6 separate regions of the Homo sapiens genome follow, and regions 2, 3, 4, 5 and 6 are each linked to region 1. The links are contacts of gene promoters, found by promoter capture Hi-C in blood cells and fetal thymus (Javierre and others, 2016). All regions are on one chromosome and are shown on one strand. The core of a region is centred on a gene start or on the middle of the fragment in contact, and the rest is flanking DNA. Distances in the headings are between cores, read along the strand shown.

What was found. The method cuts DNA at HindIII sites, captures the fragments that hold promoters and counts their contacts. A CHiCAGO score of 5 or more calls a contact.
Region 2: a fragment that was not itself captured here is called in contact with the fragment with the promoter of TERLR1 in region 1 in 5 of 17 cell types (monocytes, naive B cells, total B cells and 2 more); the score reaches 9.4 in monocytes.
Region 3: a contact is called between a fragment that was not itself captured here and the fragment with the promoter of TERLR1 in region 1, in 12 of 17 cell types (monocytes, total CD8 T cells, M0 macrophages and 9 more). The highest score is 11.5, in monocytes.
Region 4: a contact is called between a fragment that was not itself captured here and the fragment with the promoter of TERLR1 in region 1, in 1 of 17 cell types (fetal thymus). The highest score is 5.1, in fetal thymus.
Region 5: a fragment that was not itself captured here is called in contact with the fragment with the promoter of TERLR1 in region 1 in 7 of 17 cell types (naive CD4 T cells, naive CD8 T cells, total CD8 T cells and 4 more); the score reaches 8.0 in naive CD4 T cells.
Region 6: a fragment that was not itself captured here is called in contact with the fragment with the promoter of TERLR1 in region 1 in 1 of 17 cell types (total CD8 T cells); the score reaches 5.6 in total CD8 T cells.

What each region holds. Positions count from the first base shown.
Region 1 is chr5:1,177,254-1,179,899 of GRCh38, forward strand. It overlaps TERLR1 (TERT regulating lncRNA 1), which reads right to left and starts at 1,352. Exons shown (of 5, transcript NR_109911.1): 1 at 1,185-1,352. It overlaps LOC124900189, which reads right to left. Exons shown (of 8, transcript XM_047417960.1): 2 at 2,121-2,646; 3 at 1,185-2,026; 4 at 795-1,001. The coding sequence starts at 2,553. The coding sequence ends at 1,506. The HindIII fragment of the contact is 15,637 bases long and covers 1-2,646 here.
Region 2 is chr5:1,685,092-1,687,737 of GRCh38, forward strand. No RefSeq gene overlaps it. Among named protein-coding and RNA genes, the nearest start is that of MIR4277, 22 kb to the right of the region's middle. The HindIII fragment of the contact is 1,525 bases long and covers 576-2,100 here.
Region 3 is chr5:1,668,921-1,671,566 of GRCh38, forward strand. No RefSeq gene overlaps it. Among named protein-coding and RNA genes, the nearest start is that of MIR4277, 39 kb to the right of the region's middle. The HindIII fragment of the contact is 274 bases long and covers 1,217-1,490 here.
Region 4 is chr5:1,527,249-1,529,894 of GRCh38, forward strand. No RefSeq gene overlaps it. Among named protein-coding and RNA genes, the nearest start is that of LPCAT1, 4.6 kb to the left of the region's middle. The HindIII fragment of the contact is 1,380 bases long and covers 670-2,049 here.
Region 5 is chr5:1,468,136-1,470,781 of GRCh38, forward strand. All of the region lies in intron 12 of LPCAT1 (lysophosphatidylcholine acyltransferase 1), which reads right to left. Among named protein-coding and RNA genes, the nearest start is that of SLC6A3, 24 kb to the left of the region's middle. The HindIII fragment of the contact is 2,319 bases long and covers 238-2,556 here.
Region 6 is chr5:1,450,235-1,452,880 of GRCh38, forward strand. No RefSeq gene overlaps it. Among named protein-coding and RNA genes, the nearest start is that of SLC6A3, 6.1 kb to the left of the region's middle. The HindIII fragment of the contact is 3,197 bases long and covers 1-2,646 here.

The DNA.
Region 1 (2,646 bases), core at 102-2,601:
GGCAGGGCTCCCACTGCCCACCAGCGCCAAGCCCTTCTGCTCAGGTCGCCTGCTCCTGAGTGGCGGGGACACGGCTCTGGGATCCTATGGCCACAGATCCGTTCCTCACCCCTTTGCTGTAAAATGCGTTTCTTGGTCAGGAACATCGTGTGGGAAATTATAACATCTGAATAAGGCGTTCGGAAAGACTGTGGGCGACAGTGCTGAAGACAGCCCTGGAGTAAGGGATGGTGACAAGTCCCAGACAAGCACCCACCCCAGAGAGAATAGCTCTGCTCTCCCCACCGTAGAAAAGCCCAGTTTTGGCCGGGCGCGGTGGCTCATGTCTGTAATCCCAGCACTTTGAGAAGGCCAAGGCGGGCAGATCACGAGGTCAGGAGTTCGAGACAGCCTGACCAACATGGTGAAACCCTGTCTCTACTAAAAATACAAAAATTAGCCGGGCGTGGTGGCTGGCACCTGTAATCCCAGCTACTCAGGAGGCTGAGGCAGGAGAATCACTTGAACCCGGGAGGTGGATGTTGCAGTGAGCCGAGATCCTGCCATTGTACTCCAGCCTGGGTGACAGAGCGAGACTCTGTCTCAAAAAAAAAAAGAAAAAGAAGAGCCCAGTTTCCATTGGCCGCCACCGTGGCTGCGCCCTGCAGTGACGCTGTGACCAGAGCCACCTCCATGAGAGAAAACGCTTGCTGGGGAGCCCTCGTGTTCTCCCCAGTGCCACTGTGGCCACCCATCCCCAAGCTCTCGCAGGAAGGATGGGGCAGCTGGGAAGGCAGCATATTGTCCATTCTCACATGGAGAGCCCCAGTGCCCGGGATGGTCCTCAGTGAGCATTCACAGGGCGCGGCGTCCTCCAGCCGTGAGCATTGGATAGGCTGATGTACACCTCTGCCCCGACCACCCTGCCACGCCTTTCCACGGGTGCTCCTCCCTCCTTGATGGTCTCGTCAAACAGCGGCCGTCCACGAGTCAGCGTGCATCCATGCCTCTGGCCGTCTCTCCTCCAGTGGAGGCGAGCAACTCACTTAGTGTGGACATCCTGCCTCCCAGGGCATGTCCCTTCCCCAGCACCTTCAGGACCACCCGTGCCTGGGATGTGGGCCCACAAGCTGCCGCAGCCACACAAAAGCCACCCAGACACCGAGGGGCAAGTAGCACCAGTGCATTGGCAGCCTGCAGCTCACCTGCTGAGCGGGTCAGGATGTGACACGGGCGGTCACTGGAAGGCAGAGGGGCCCCCCAGCCTTGAGCCTCCTTCGCGGTAAGTGGTGCAGGGGCAGCCATTTCTCTTTCACTTCTCACTGTCTCCAGAACAGGAGAAATATCCGGAGCTCAGGCCTGTGTGTGTTTGTGAGGCCAGAGGTCAGTGAAGCCTCACAAACTCAGGATGTGCTCCTCCTAACCCTCATGTCTCCTCCTCTTCCTCCTCCTCACCCGTCCCCTCCTCGTTCCTCCCACTGGGATATCAGAGTCAGAGAGCTACAGGGGTAGAAGGGATGTGGGGGTCACACGGGCGTCCGCTCGAGCCCTGCCTGGGCGCTGGAGGAGGGCCTGGCCATGTTTTCTTTCCTAGAAACTCTCATTTGATCCTCCGAAGGGAGAGAAGGGACGGGAAGGAACAGAGGCCTTGGGTGTCGGCCTAATTCAGTCCCAAGGCCACCCCCACCTGCCATCCTTGGGGCCACTGGTGACTCCACATTGCAGAGCAGCTGCTGGCTGAGGCTGGGCTTGGCGGTGCTCACGTGCCTGGGGTGTGAAAGCTGCACGCAGCCCTCATCTGGCCAGGTCCCCGGCTCCGACTCACACCGTGCTTGGCCAGTGTTTAACTCACACAGCGTGATGCTCTCCACTTCATGCCTGGGGACGGACGTCACTCCTATTCCATGTCTTGTCTTTCCACAGGACTCACGTACGGACTCACATGGCTTTGTGTGCAAAAGACGACTACACGGTCGTAAACGAGGCGGCCCACCCCAGCTCTCCCTCAGGTGAGGCTCAGCTGGGGGCAGACCAGGCCAGCCACGTCCTGCAGGGCGAGAGGCACCCGGCCCGCTGGAGTCCCACGCAGCCCTGACATGCCCAGGACCCTGCTCACCCCACACCCTCGCTCGGGCACCCACCCCCTGCCTGCAGTGGGGGCTTTCCCTGGGGCCTCAAGACTGCAGGAGAGGCAGGCGGGGCCTGTGGGGTTGTGTTTCTTCTCTCCAGAGTTCCTGAGTCCGGAGCACATAGGCAGAAGGAGCTGCTCCCCATGTTCCCAGGGCTGCTCCTGCAGGGGCTCAGGAGTGGGGACCGGGGGGTTTTGTCAGAGCAAGTCCCCAGGGGCCAGGCCCAGTCATCTCGCTCCAGGCAGCCTGGGCCTGGGGCCCTGACCACTTGCCCCGCACGACTCAGGGCCCCCTCCGCACCTGGACACGGGCCCCACAGGCCACGCTCAGGCCACCCCAGGGTCAGGAACACAAGGCTACGCTGGGAAGTGCCAGCGTCTCGCACATAGAATTGGTGTTGCTTCTCTCTTCTCAATATCCACCCCGAATACCCCATTTTCCACATTTCCTATATTAAACTGTATTATTTTGTAGTTAGAAAAAAGTTTTATTTCTAAAGATGGCAGCTTCTGTCTCTGTACCCGTGGAGTTAGAATCA
Region 2 (2,646 bases), core at 88-2,587, 510 kb after region 1:
AAGTCTGACTTTTGCCCTGAAAGCAGCTTGGCCTATATGAACAGCCAGGAAAATTGCAGCAGAGCCCAACTCTCCCTGTGATCCATTTATCACAGTCTCTCTCAGCCTGACAGAGACAGAGGCGCAAAGCAAGATGCATCAGCGTGAGCATCCTGTGTGGACAATGAGCACGTGGTCTGGTAATATCCACCCACTCAGGCGTGAGCCCCATCTGTTGAAACACAGATGCAAATACGGTAAGAAGTTTCCCAACACCACTGCCGCGCAGCACCTGCTTCACACTGAGATCCACAAAATGTGTACTTCAGTGCCGTGAACCACCCGTTCTGTGCTAATATTTTGCTGTAGTGTTTTGGGTTGGTTTCTTTCTTGGCTGGGCACAAAGGTGTATCAGTTGATCTTATGAATCTCTGAAGTGCAGAAGGAAACCTTATGCAGGAGATGAGCCGAGGATGGTGATTTTGTCCAAGGCTTTTCTTAGGGGACACCCTGAGCATTCCACAGGAAGGGCGAACTGTCAGACATGATTCGCTCTGTCTCTTTTAACTCTAAATGCTTCCAGGCCTCTTACGATAAGCTTTGTTGAAGCAGGCTCTGCGGAGGCACTTCACATCCTAAACATTCTATTTCCTTAAGCACTGCATACCAGTGAGTAAGATTAAGAGATGACAAATGGGAAGAAAGATGGCTGCAATAAATAGAAAATTGTAGAAAAGACACAGACTTTCCGGCCTCTGAGTGCACATGTGAGTGGTTGTGTGTGCATGTGTGTGAGTGCATGTGCGCGTGTGCTGAGGGTATATGTATAAGCCTCAGTGCGTAACCAGATGCGTGTGTGTGAGCCCAGGTGCGTGTGTGGTGAGGGTATATGTATAAGCATCAGTGCATAACCAGAAATAAATAATTTAATTATTTTCTCCATCAGAAAAAGTTGTAGCTGTTGAGATACATACCAGATGACCTTTATGCAAGAATATCGCAGCGGAGTCATCCCTGTGTCCACACAGCCCGGGTTTCTGACTCTGACGGTGACATAAGGGGTGTTCTGTGAGAAGGCATACTTGTCTCCATGGTGTCACTCTTAGCAACATCCCAGAGTACACCCAACTCCTGGAGCTGCCCTGTGACTGGCCTGCACAGCTGGCCGGGCCCCTTCCGCTGTCTCCTGCGTTGAGGTAGGAGCAAGGAATGCATGGACCTGGAGGAGCTGGGGACAGGGCGCTGCTGATCTGGGAAGCTCACCTGGCCAGCAGGTGCCTCTGACCCCTCCCACTGGGGATGTCTGGAGGCTGAACAGCAGTGTGGGCTGAGAGCAACCAGGCCGTAGGGCAGCCCCCGAGGCTGTGGAATGTCCTTGGGCTGCTGGCTCCCTACTCTCCGGGAACCAGCAAGTGACAGCAGGCTCGGCCTCCTGGAGGAAGAGAGAATCACATGGTATCCCCAAGCCACAGGGGGGCCTTGGAGCATGGCCACAGGGCACATGACCTCAAAGAGCGTGAGAGGCCGGGCGAGGCTGTCCTGCCAGGTGAGCTGCCTGGTGACAGGGAGTGTGAGCCCCACGCATGGCTGATTGAAAGATGCTCTGCTGGAAAAGGGGCACCCAGAGCTGCTCTCCCTGGGCAGGGTCGGGGGTGCCCCAGTGCTGGTGGATCTCGAGGGGCAGGAAGAGTGGGGGCACCTGTGAGGTTCAGTTCAGCCAGTTGTGCCCCAGCCAAGGTGGGGCGAGTCCACACCCTCCCTGATGCTCAGGTCTCGCCTTGGCCCTTGCACACCACTCTTGAGGGGGACCCACGTTCTGCCCGCTTTCTCTCTCCCTGGGATCCAAGTACTCTCCCTGGTCAACCCTGGAGGAGGGAAGCCCACCTGAGAGCTGCGCCTGCTGCAGCTGGACGCACTTGTCATTTCCAGGCTGCGCTCCTCTCCAGGGACCCCATGCCGTGTGGTGCAGGCTCCTGCACAGCCTTGGTGTGAAGTACCATCTTATAAATAATCCACTGCCTGCCTCTCCTGCCCCATCACTCCAGCCGCATGGGACAGGTGATGTTTCTAACAGAAGAGGAGCGTGACCACACACAGCAGTCCAACAGGCATGGCCCAGGAAGCTTCCAGTGGCTCTGGTTCCTGGGCCATTCTGGGAGTGGGCCTGGGAACTTGCGTCTCTTCAGGGTCTCCAGACAGTGCTGTTTTGGGCCCACGTTTCTCAGCCCCTACATCACAACGTTATATTGAAGCATGAGGAGCTCTCCCCTGCACCCTCCAGCATGGCTTATTCCACCCTCATGCCTAAGCCTATGTCTTTGCATGTGGGGTCTTTGCATGTGGGGCAGCCTGAACAATGCACACCCCTCTGGGGCTCAGGGAAGACGTCTTGGGCTGCGTTTTCTGCAACGTGGTCTGCCTTCTGGCCTTGATGCCCGGGAAGCTTCTCTTGGAAAAATGCTGAGAGGCAACCTTGGCTCTGCAGGGCAAGCCTGCACCCGGGCTGGGGATCCAGTGTGAGGCTGGGGCTCTGCCCCATGGGCAGCGCACGGCCAGTGGCCACTGCAGAGCCAAAGGCAGTGGTGATGTGGGGTTAAAAAGGCCGTAGCTTCTGGAGCTCACCCACTCCAGTGGTTTTTCTGAGGCCTAAAGCAAGGGCAGCCTTGA
Region 3 (2,646 bases), core at 104-2,603, 490 kb after region 1:
AAGTTGGGAACTGCTTAGAGCAAACCTGCCTCCCTTTCTATTCAAAGTCTCCCCCTGCTCACTGAGATGAATGCAGATCTGATTGCCTCCTTTGGAGAGGCTCATCACAAGCTCAAAAGAACGCAGCCATCTGTCTCTTACCTACCTTTGACCTGGAAGCCCTTCCTCGAGTTGTCCCGCCTTTGCTTTGAATTGTCCCACGTTTCCAGACCAAACCAATGTTCATCTTACACATGCTGATTGATGTCCCATATCTCCCTAAAATATATAAAACCAAGCTGTGCTCTGACCACCTTGGGTACATGTCGGCAGGACCTCCTGAGGCTGTCACAGCTGCGCAGCCTCAACCTTGGCAAAATAAACTTTCTAAATTGAGACCTGTCTCAGAATTTTGGGGTTCACAGCATGCAGCCAGCAGACCTGGTGATGAAGGAGGCTAAGATCTGGCCACATGAATCTGAGGCTCATGTGTATCTGAGGCATGATGAGCCAGCAGGGTGGGGACAGGGTTTGTGCAAGAGAGCTGGGACCCTGAACTTGTGGGCTTGTGTGAGTGCCAGAGCTGGGGGCATGGTGAACCATGCATCCTGGGTATGTGGCAGTAGGGCAGTGACTTCCCTGGCCCTCTACGCCTCTGTAGGGCCTCAGCTATCTGGTAAGGGCTGTGTCTAAGACAGACCCCTGACCATGGTCCTGCCCAGCCTGTTCCCGTGGACCCTGCCAGCATCAGGATTTCTTGGCTGCCTAGTCAAGTGCCATACCTCTCAGAGGAGAGGACAGGGAGGGGCCTGGGGTCTACAGAAGGAGGCTTCAGCTAAAAAGAAGACTTGTGCCACAGAGAACGGCACGGCAAAGAAAGCCGGGGGCACCAAGCTCTGAGGACGCACATCTGCAGAAGCCCAGCAGCTGCACACCGGCTCCCTCCAGCCCTTTCCACAGCACACAGAGAGCCGGGGGTTCCCAGGCCTGGAAACAGGACAGAGTGTGGACCCCCTTTCCTCAGGCCAGGGTTTGCCTTGTCACGTCCATTGTGTAAAGCTGAGGATAAGGGTGAAGGGTAAGGGCTGAGTACTGTGGAGGCCCTGTCCATCAGCACTCTCAGCTTGAGGAAGGTGATGAGCAGGGCCCACCCCCCATTCACCCCTAAACCCCACTTGTCTACCTTGGACCTGGACGAGCAAAGCTGGCTCAGGCACAGGACTCCCTGGGTGTTTGAAGCTTTCCACCCTCAAGCAGGGGCTGTGAGCATTGCAGGCTTGCCAAGCACAGATGTGCACTGCACGGAGTGGGAAGGAGACAGTGTATAGAAATCTTCAGCCAGATTCTGTTCATCGCAATATAAAGATGGCCTTGTGCTCAGGACACATAAGTCACAGGGAAAGTTCAAAAGCTGAGAATGTAGGTGTCTACTTTGGAATTCTATTATCTTAGGTAATATCTAAAAGCAAGACAAATGCTTACAGCAGGCTAGCAGCATGAAAGAAAAGTGAAGCTTCTTAAGGAGAGTTGGGATGATGACATACTGTGGTCAATTTTTAATGCTCTTACAAAGGAAAAGAAGCACAGACAATAAATAGTGCCAAATGCAGTTAGTCACACACGTGTGTGGCTCCCACATGCACATGCACTCACCCCATCAGCTGACCTGCCCACCATCCTGGGAGTCTAGTCTGCAGCTGAAGGCTCATTTGCAAGAGGAAGAGGTTCTGGTGATGGTGACTCAGCTACTTACAGAAAAGTCTTGATCACACATTGAGACATTCATGACACGTTTCCATATTTCCAAATCCATTGTCATCAGGTACATAATTAATTGTAACATTGCTAACTCTGGAAGAAGAAGGAGTTTCCATAATTTATTCATAAGACGAAGTCACCTGTTTGAAGAGCCTTGAGATACTCCATTGAGGGGCTCTCTTTTAAGCATCACTTCTCCTTCCCAAATGTTGGAGGACAAAAGAACTTTCCTTTCCAAATTTGGAAACAGTAGAACTTAATCCTACCTGAATGTGTTCTCCCTTCCTGGGACCAGTGAAAGTACCCAGGTAGAAGCAATAAAGGTTTTCTGGGAAAAGTAGACCCCTTCTGATTCCTGATTCCTGAGAGATGGAAGGCGGGTGGGAATGTGGGTATCATGGGGTGGATAATCGGCTCTTCTGCAACCTTTTGGGACTCCTCCTTGGGCCAGGTTTGGCTCATACATCAGCCCTGTAAGGGGGCCAAGAGAGAATTCTGTGTTTGGCGTGCAGAGATAGAGATGAGGGTGTTTCATCGCCATTGTTCAGTGAATTGCCCAAGCATGGACTGCGTGGTTAGGAAAGATAGAGAAGCTTTGTATTCCTCTGTGACATTGACCAGTAATGTCATAAACCTGAGCTGGAAGAGTTTTCTTGATTTCATGCTTGAGGTACCAGGCACAGCATCTGGCCGCAGCACCAGAAGCACCAGCTCCTGCCCAAACAGGCTCAAGGCCTCATAGGTTGAAGTTGGAGGGCATTTCTGTTTTCATGAGCCAGCCATATGCTGGAGAAACTTAGGGTGGCTGATGGATTTCATTCATGGCGCTTCTCTTAAAGTGATCGCTTGAAAACGGATGGTGCTGTGTCCATGGGAGGCACCCCAGGCCTCCCAAGTGCTGTTGCAGAG
Region 4 (2,646 bases), core at 110-2,609, 350 kb after region 1:
CCCCACTGTGGTTCTCAGGAACCTCCTGGAAGCCCCCCACAGCTCCCTGGGGCTGGTAACCACACCCCTGAGGCTTCTTGCTCTGGTTTTGTCTCTGTTTTAAGAGTGTAAGCTCACAGAGAAGTGTTTCCTATACTCCAAGTGCATTGAGAACACAAGGTACCTGCTTGTTCTGGTAAGGCTGAGTATTTTTGTTTTGTTTGTTTAATTTTTGAATTTTAGAGTTATCTATAGGATAGAAAAAGATATTCTCCTTCATTTTCTACTAACATCTTTTTTCAGTTCTGCCTTTCATGGTTGCATTTTATTCTATTTGAAGATTTTTTTCTCTGCATGGAGACCTGATATTCTCAACACCACGTATCAATCACAGACTCCCACTTGTGGGTCCACTTCCAGCATGAACAGAAAGAAGGGTTCCTGAAGCTCCTTCTGGCTGCCCCATCTCACCCATTGGTCCGTGTACTCCTTTACTCCCGTCTCACCCGCCGGTCCGCGTACTCCTTTACTCCTGTCTCACACCTTTCAACCGTCTGCCTTAGTAACTGTAGAGGGGGTTCCTTCCTGTTGGCGCTTCTTCCCAAGAATTGTAGTAGGAATTCAGGGAATTTTATTTTTCCATCCAAATTTTGGAAGCAGTTGTCCCCATTGCTAAAAATTCCCGCTGGAAGCTTCCTTTTGAATCACATTAATTGTACAGGGTACTTCAGTAAGAATGTTACTTCATTCTTACTGTTCATTCTCCCTGTTCCCTAAGAATGTTACTTCAGTAAGAGCTGGCTGGTCCTGGGAGGGGCCCTCGAAGGGCCAGCAAGGCTCCAAGGCTCCAAGGCTTCAAAGCACTAGAAAATACAAAAAAAAAATTTTTTAAATGGATGATGTGGCATGGACACTTTATAATTTTGAGAACGATTTTTCACCAACATGGTTATTCTACCATTTATTTAGATGTTCTTTCATGCCCTTTGATAGCATTTTAAATTTTTCTACATAAAGATTCTGTATTTTTGTTAATTCCTTGATGCTTCATACTTCTGCAGTGATGTAATAATCGTTTCAAAAATTACTCTTGGGCCGGGCGCGGTGGCTCATGCCTGTAATCTCAGCACTTTGGGACGCCGAGGTGGGCGGATCATCTGAGGTCAGGAGTTCGAGACCAGCCTGGCCAACATGGCAAAACCCCATCTCTACTAAAAATATGACAATTAGCCAGGTGTGGTGGCACACGCCTGTAGTCCCAGCTACCCGGGAGGCTGAGGCAGGAGGATTGCTTGAACCTGGGAGACAGAGGTTGCAGTGAGCCAAGATCACGCCACTGTACTCCAGCCTGGGCAAGAACAGAGCGAGACTCTCTTTCAAAAAAAAAAATTACTCTTGACAGTATGGATTATATGGAGAACCACTACTGCTTGTGTAGAGGTTGTATGAAGACAGACCCCAGGGTACAAGAGGACCTGTGGATGTTCCAGATGAGGAGTGCACAGCCCCAGAGTGAGGGACTCCATCATGTACAATGGATGGACTTCCTATTCAACCCACAATCATGACAAACAGAAAATTGTGGTGGTTTTCAGTCACTACAGACTGAGATGGTTTGTTAAGCAGTGATAGTGTCTTTCAAAGAGCAGATATTTTAAATTTTGATGAAGTCCAATTTATCAGCGTTTTCTTTTAGGGATCATGGTTTTGGTATCCTCTTTTATAAATATTTACCTGCATCAAGGTCATTCAGATTTTCTTACTTCAGAAGTTTTACAGTTTTGGCTTTACCATTTAGGTCTGTATTCCATTTCAAGTTGACATTTGTACACGGCATAAAGTAAAGTGGAGGCAGAGGTTTTTTAGTTTCAAATGTTTTCGTCTGAATATTCAACTGTTTCGGCACCATTTGTTGAAGAGAATATTCTTTCTCCATTGAACTACCTTGACAACTTTGTAAAAAAATTAAGTGGCCATATATGTATAGTTGAGTCTATTCCTGGACTCTGTATTTTGTTCCATGGATCTGTACATCTGCAACTGCCAACATCACACTATACTGATTACTAAAGCTTTATATTAGTCTTGAAATTAGACTGCACTGCACTGGAGTGCAGTGGCCCGATCTCGGCTCACTGCAGACTCCGCCTCCTGAGTTCAAGCGATTCTCCTGTCTCAGCCTTCGGAGTAGCTGGGACTACAGGCATGCACCAGCACGCCCAGCTAATTTTTATATTTTTTAGTAGAGACGGGGTTTCACCATGTTGGCCAGGCTGGTCTCGAACTCCTGACCTCAGGTAATCTGCCCGCCTTGGCCTCCCAAAGTGCTGGGATGACAGGTGTGAGCCACCATGCCCAGCCAAAATTTTAGAATCATTTTGTCAAGAAACTGAAGTATCCAGGAACAAACAAACAAAAGGTTGGTGGGATTTTTAATGAGATTGTGTTGAATCTATTGATCAATTTGGGAAAATTGCCATCTTAGCAATATTGAGTTATCCATCCATGAGCATGGTATACAGATCATTTATTTAGGTTTTCTTTAATTTCCCTCAGCAATGTTTTATAATTTTCACTGCATAGGTCTTACATAGGTTTTCGAATTCTGTTCCTATTTCATGTTTTGATGCTGTTATAAATGATACTGCTTCTTAATTTCAATTTCCA
Region 5 (2,646 bases), core at 147-2,646, 290 kb after region 1:
CACCCTCTTCCCGGGGCTCTGCCTCTACCCCATGGACCGGGTCTGCTCCAGGCTCTGGAGACCCCATCCTCACCCTCCACTCTCCCTCCCCTGGGCCTCATCCCACAGCGCTGCCGCACGCGGCCACCCTGTCTTCTGTGGTCTACGTTTCTCTCCTGCTTTTAGATTTGCTGAATCAAACATCTGCAGACGAAATCCACGTTGGTGCTGCTGGAGCCTCAGAACGGGCCGGGTCAAAGCTTCAGGGCCACGGCCTCCAGCTCCTCGGCCGACCTGGATCCCACTCAGCCCCCAGAGAGCAGTGCCTCCTGCCCCCTAGTGGTTGCAAGGCTGCTTCAGAGGGGACAACCTGACATCTGTGTCCATTTGGACATGAGAACTGCAGATGCAGACTTTCATCCTCGGAGCCTCGTGTAGATGCTGCACGGGAAACGCAGAGGTAGGACTGAGGCTACCACAGGCAACAGACTTCAGGTTCTCACTGTCCACTCTCTGAGCCGCTGGAAGTTTTACCAGGGCCACATCTTAAGGTTTTACACAGTAATGATAACGAAAAAGAACAAAAACAAGGGGCCCCAAGGCGTATGAAGCACATCGGTGCGCTGCGCATCCGGAGTCCTGAGCACCGGCGTGTGCCTCTGGGGTCCTAGGTGCTAGGAGTTCTGTGTCCACAGTCAGCCTGGGGGGCAGCTTCCTGGATCTCTGTGTCCCAAGAGCAGCACGCTGGTGCACTTGCCACGCTCTCTCACACGAGACTGCTCCGTGGAAGCCCTTCCTGCTACATGCAGTCCCCCCAAAATGTGCCAGGCTCCCAGAGCAGCAGCAAAGCACAATGGCCATGACTTCAGGAAATGATGACACCATGAAAGGTATAGGCTGCAGAAAGGGACATGGGGAAGCAGCCTGCAAGAAGGTGGGAGGAAGGCAGGGCATATGCCGTCAGGGCGGAGCTGCTGAGGGTGGAGGTGAGGCGGGACCCTGGTGTCGCCGTGGGGACGCAGCCATATCAGCGGCCTGGAAGCCTGTGAGAAGTGATCACCCATCCTGCCCCCAGGTGGTCACTGTAGGGCAGCCTAGGCCTCACCCATCGCCTGGTTCACCTGAGAAAGACCTCCTAGTGGCACATACCCCACCCCAAGCAGGGACCCGGTGCACACTGTCCTCCCCAGTGGGCGTCCTCAACCCTACCACAGCCAGTTACCCTGCCCACCTGCAGGTGGGGCCTGTGCAGGAGGAAGGTCGGGCTCCACAGCCCATTGTTCATGTTGAGAAACAAGGCAACTGCCACCCCCACCGCTGCTGTCATTCGTTCCAGGTTATACTTGGTGGCTCTACAGCAGGGGCTGGTGGGGCCAGCAGAACGGGGGGCGGTGGCTCATGCCTGTAATCCCAGCACTTTGGGATGCTGAGGTGGGCGGATCACTTGAGGCCAGGAGTTTGAGACCAGCCTGGCCAACATGGTGAAACCCTGTTTCTTCTAAAATTACAAAAATTAGCTGGGTTTCATGGCACGAGCCTGTAATCCCAGCTACTTGGGAGGCTGAGGCACGAGAATCACTTGAACCTGGGAGGCAGAGGTTGGTTGCAGTGAGCCAAGATTGCACCACTGCACTCCAGCCTGGACAACAGAGCGAGACTCCATCTCACAAAAATTAAAAAAAAAAAAACAACAGGGCACAGTGAAAGCAGGGCCAGCAGGGGCCGCAGGGCCACAGGGCCTGGCTCAGATCAGGGGCCCTAGGAGGCAGGCTGCCCAGGCCTGGAGGAGGCAGGGAGGTCAGGCTTTCTTACACAGAGCTGCCAAATGTTGAGGTCATCGAGTTCATCCTGCCTGGGGAGACCCCCACAAGCCACCTTTTCATGTGGGGACATTCCCCAGTGTTGCTATGGAGAGGGTGTGCTGGCATCAGAAGCAAGAGAAGGGAGTTCTTGGAGCGGTGAGAGACATGCAGCTTCTTGACTCACACATCAGGCCCTTGAGAGTCTGGCTAATGTGAGTCACACCCTGTGAGAAGCCTTGGTAAAGTTGTGCCTCTGTACAGGCAAAGCCGGCCCAGCTCTATCCCAGATGAAATCCACATTGGTGCTGCTGGAGCCTCAGAATAGGCCAGGCCAAACCCTCAGGGTTACCTGGCCTCCCGCCCTCCAGGCCTGACCCAGACCCCACTCAGCCCCCAGGGAGCAGCGACTCCCTGTGGTGAGGCAAGTCCTGAGGGCTTCCCAGGAGTCTGCAGCTGGGCTGGGACCCCAGACTCCCCCAGTGGTGATGACTGGGCTCTGACATGTTGTAGCCCCTGGGGTTAGCTGAGGTGGGCAGCTCCTAAGCCGTGCTTTCTTCACCAGTCCAGTCTGAGGGGGAGAGAGGACAAGGTGTGTGGCCCCTGTGTTAGGTGCCCTGTAGTGTGTGATGGTGTGTGACACCACCAGCCCCACCCAGGTGCCCCAGGACCCAGGAAGAACCTCAGCCATGCTTTCTGATGAGTGTGGATTGCTAATCCAGGAAGAAATAAATCTGGGAGTTTTCTGGGCATTTTACAAACAACAGCTAGCATAAAAAGCTTACGTAAAAATAGCAGTTGGGCAAATGATCAATTAACTGATATTATAAGGAACTAGAGAAATGAACAATGGTGCTGACGTGACTGC
Region 6 (2,646 bases), core at 60-2,559, 270 kb after region 1:
CAAACAATTCTAAAATAAAACCTAAAATAATTTCACTTACAATAGCATCCGAAACAAAATGCTTGGGGATAAACCGTATCCGAGACTTGTGCACCGAAAACCTAGAATCCATTGCTGTGAGAAACTTTTGAAAGTCTAGACAAGCAGAGGAGTGTGTATGTTTATGACTGAAAGGCTCAATATTAATGAGATGTCAGTTCTTCATAAATTGACATACAGATTCAATGCAATCTCAATCAAAATTCTAACTTGCTTTTTTGAAGAAATTAACCAGCTGGTTCTAAAATGTGTTTGGAGATGTGGGTGACCTAGAGTAGCCAAAAGAATCTTGAAAAAGAACAACATTGGAGGACCTAGGAGATGCCTTTCATGATTCCACCATCCTAACAAAACTAATTGGACTTTTTTTCTGTAATTATCTCGGCATTTGTGTCTTTTTAAAAACAGCCTTGCTGAGGTGTAATGGATATGCAATATTCCAAGTGTACGATTTGGTGAGTGACTGATGGGGTCATGGCAACGCGATCACACAGAAGATGATGGCGGTGCTCCTCCCTCGCTGACTTCCCTCTGTCTGTGTCTCTTTACCTCTTCCCATCCCCAGGCAACCACTGATTTGCTCTTTTTTTTTTTCTTTTTGTGAGACGGAGTCTCACTCTGTCACCTAGGCTGGAGTGCAGTGGCACGATCTCAGCTCACTGCAGCCTTTGCCTCCTCAGTTCAAGCAATTCTCCTGCCTCAGCCTCCCAAGTAGCTGGGATTACAGATGCCCGCCACCACACCCAGCTAATTTTTGTATTTTTAGTAGAAACAGGGTTTCACTATGTTGGCCAGGCTGGTCTTGAACTCCCAACCTCAAGTGATAAGCTCGCCTTGGCCTCCCAAAATGCTGGAATGATTTGTTTTCTATGATTACAGAACAATGTGTTTTTAATAGAATTTTATATAAATAGAATTATACAGTAAGTACTGTTTTCTGGGTCTGTTCTTTTGCATTCAGCATATTTGAGAAGAATCCACATCATTGCATCGGCAGTTAATTCCCTTTTAGTTATTTGTAGTATCCATTGTGTGGATATGGGATATGATGTACTTGGCTTTTCCATCTGCCTATTGATGGACATCTGGCTGTTACAAATAAAGCTACTATGAACATTTGTGTGCAAGTCTTTGAACATAGGCTCTCATTACTTTGGGGTAGGTAAGAAGTACTTAGTTGTGGAATGGCTGGGTCATTTGGTAGATATATGTTTAACTATTTTTTTAAAAACTGTTAAATTCTTTTGCAAAGTAGTTGTATCATTTTATATTTCCATGAACAGTGTATGATAATTTTAGTTACTTCATATTCTAATGAATACTTAGTATGGTCAGTCTTTTAAATTTTAGACATCCTAATATGTTTACAGTAATATCTCCTATACTGCTCTAATGAGCGTGATCTTTGAACAATTTCTCATGTGTTAGCTGCATCAGTGCCACTTCGTGTTAAGTGTCTGTTCAAATCTTTTGCACCTTTGGGTTGTTTAATTGAGCTTTGAGAGTTCTTTACTATTCTGGATACCAGTCCCTTATCAGATGGGTACTTTGCAAATATTTTTCCCAGTCTTGGACTGTCTTTTCATTCTCTTAATAGATTCTTTCAGAGAAGAGTTATTAATTTTGATGAAGTCTAATTTATCCATTTTTCTTTCACAAATCCTGCTTTTAGTGTTGTATTTAAGAAATCTTTACCAAATTCATGATCATCAAGATTTTCTCCTAAGTTTTCCTCTAAACTTTTTAAAATTATAGATTGCATATTTACACATAGAATGCATTTTTAAACTAGCTTGGTGTAAGACACCAATTGAAGTTCACCACTTTACCTCCGAAGAGCCAGTTGTTCAGTGTTCTGCTGAGTTGCTTTTGCACCTTTGTTGAAAAGTCAGTTGTATGTATGTGTGTGGGTTTATTTCTGGGCTCCCTGTTTTATGATCTGTTAATCCATTTTGATGCTAATACCACACTTGCTGTGGACTGAATTGTTTACCCCCAAATTCATAGGTTAAAGCCATAACCCCCGCAAGGTGACTTTATCTGGAGATAGGGACTTTAGGAGGTGATTAGGTTAAATTAAATTGTAAGGGTGGGGTCATAACCCAGGAGGACTGTGGCCTTATAAGAAGAGGAAGCTCTCTCCATTTTACTTTCTGCCATGTGAAGATAGAGTAAGAAGGCGGCCATCTGCAAGCCAGGAAGAGAGGCCTCACCAGGAACTGAATCAGCTGCCTTGATGTTGGATTTCCAGTCTCCAGAACTGTGAGAAACAAATGTCTGCTGTTAAGCCCCCAAATCTGGTGTATTTTGTTGTGGCAGCCTGAGGAGATTAAAATGGCACTATCTTCATTATGGTCCTTTTGTAATACATTTTTAAATCAGGTAATGTAAGTCAGACAACTTTGTTCATTTTCAAAGTTGTTTTGCATATTCTCGGTCCTGTGCTTTTTCATATGAATTTTGGAATCAACTTTTCAATTTCTTCCAAAGTCCCGCATGGGATTTCTTCGGGTGGAGGCTGCCATCAATTTTTCATCATTATTCCTTTCTGAGGCAGGCTTCATGTCTAGATTTTCTTCTAAGTTCTGATTTAGCCAAATTCCAAAA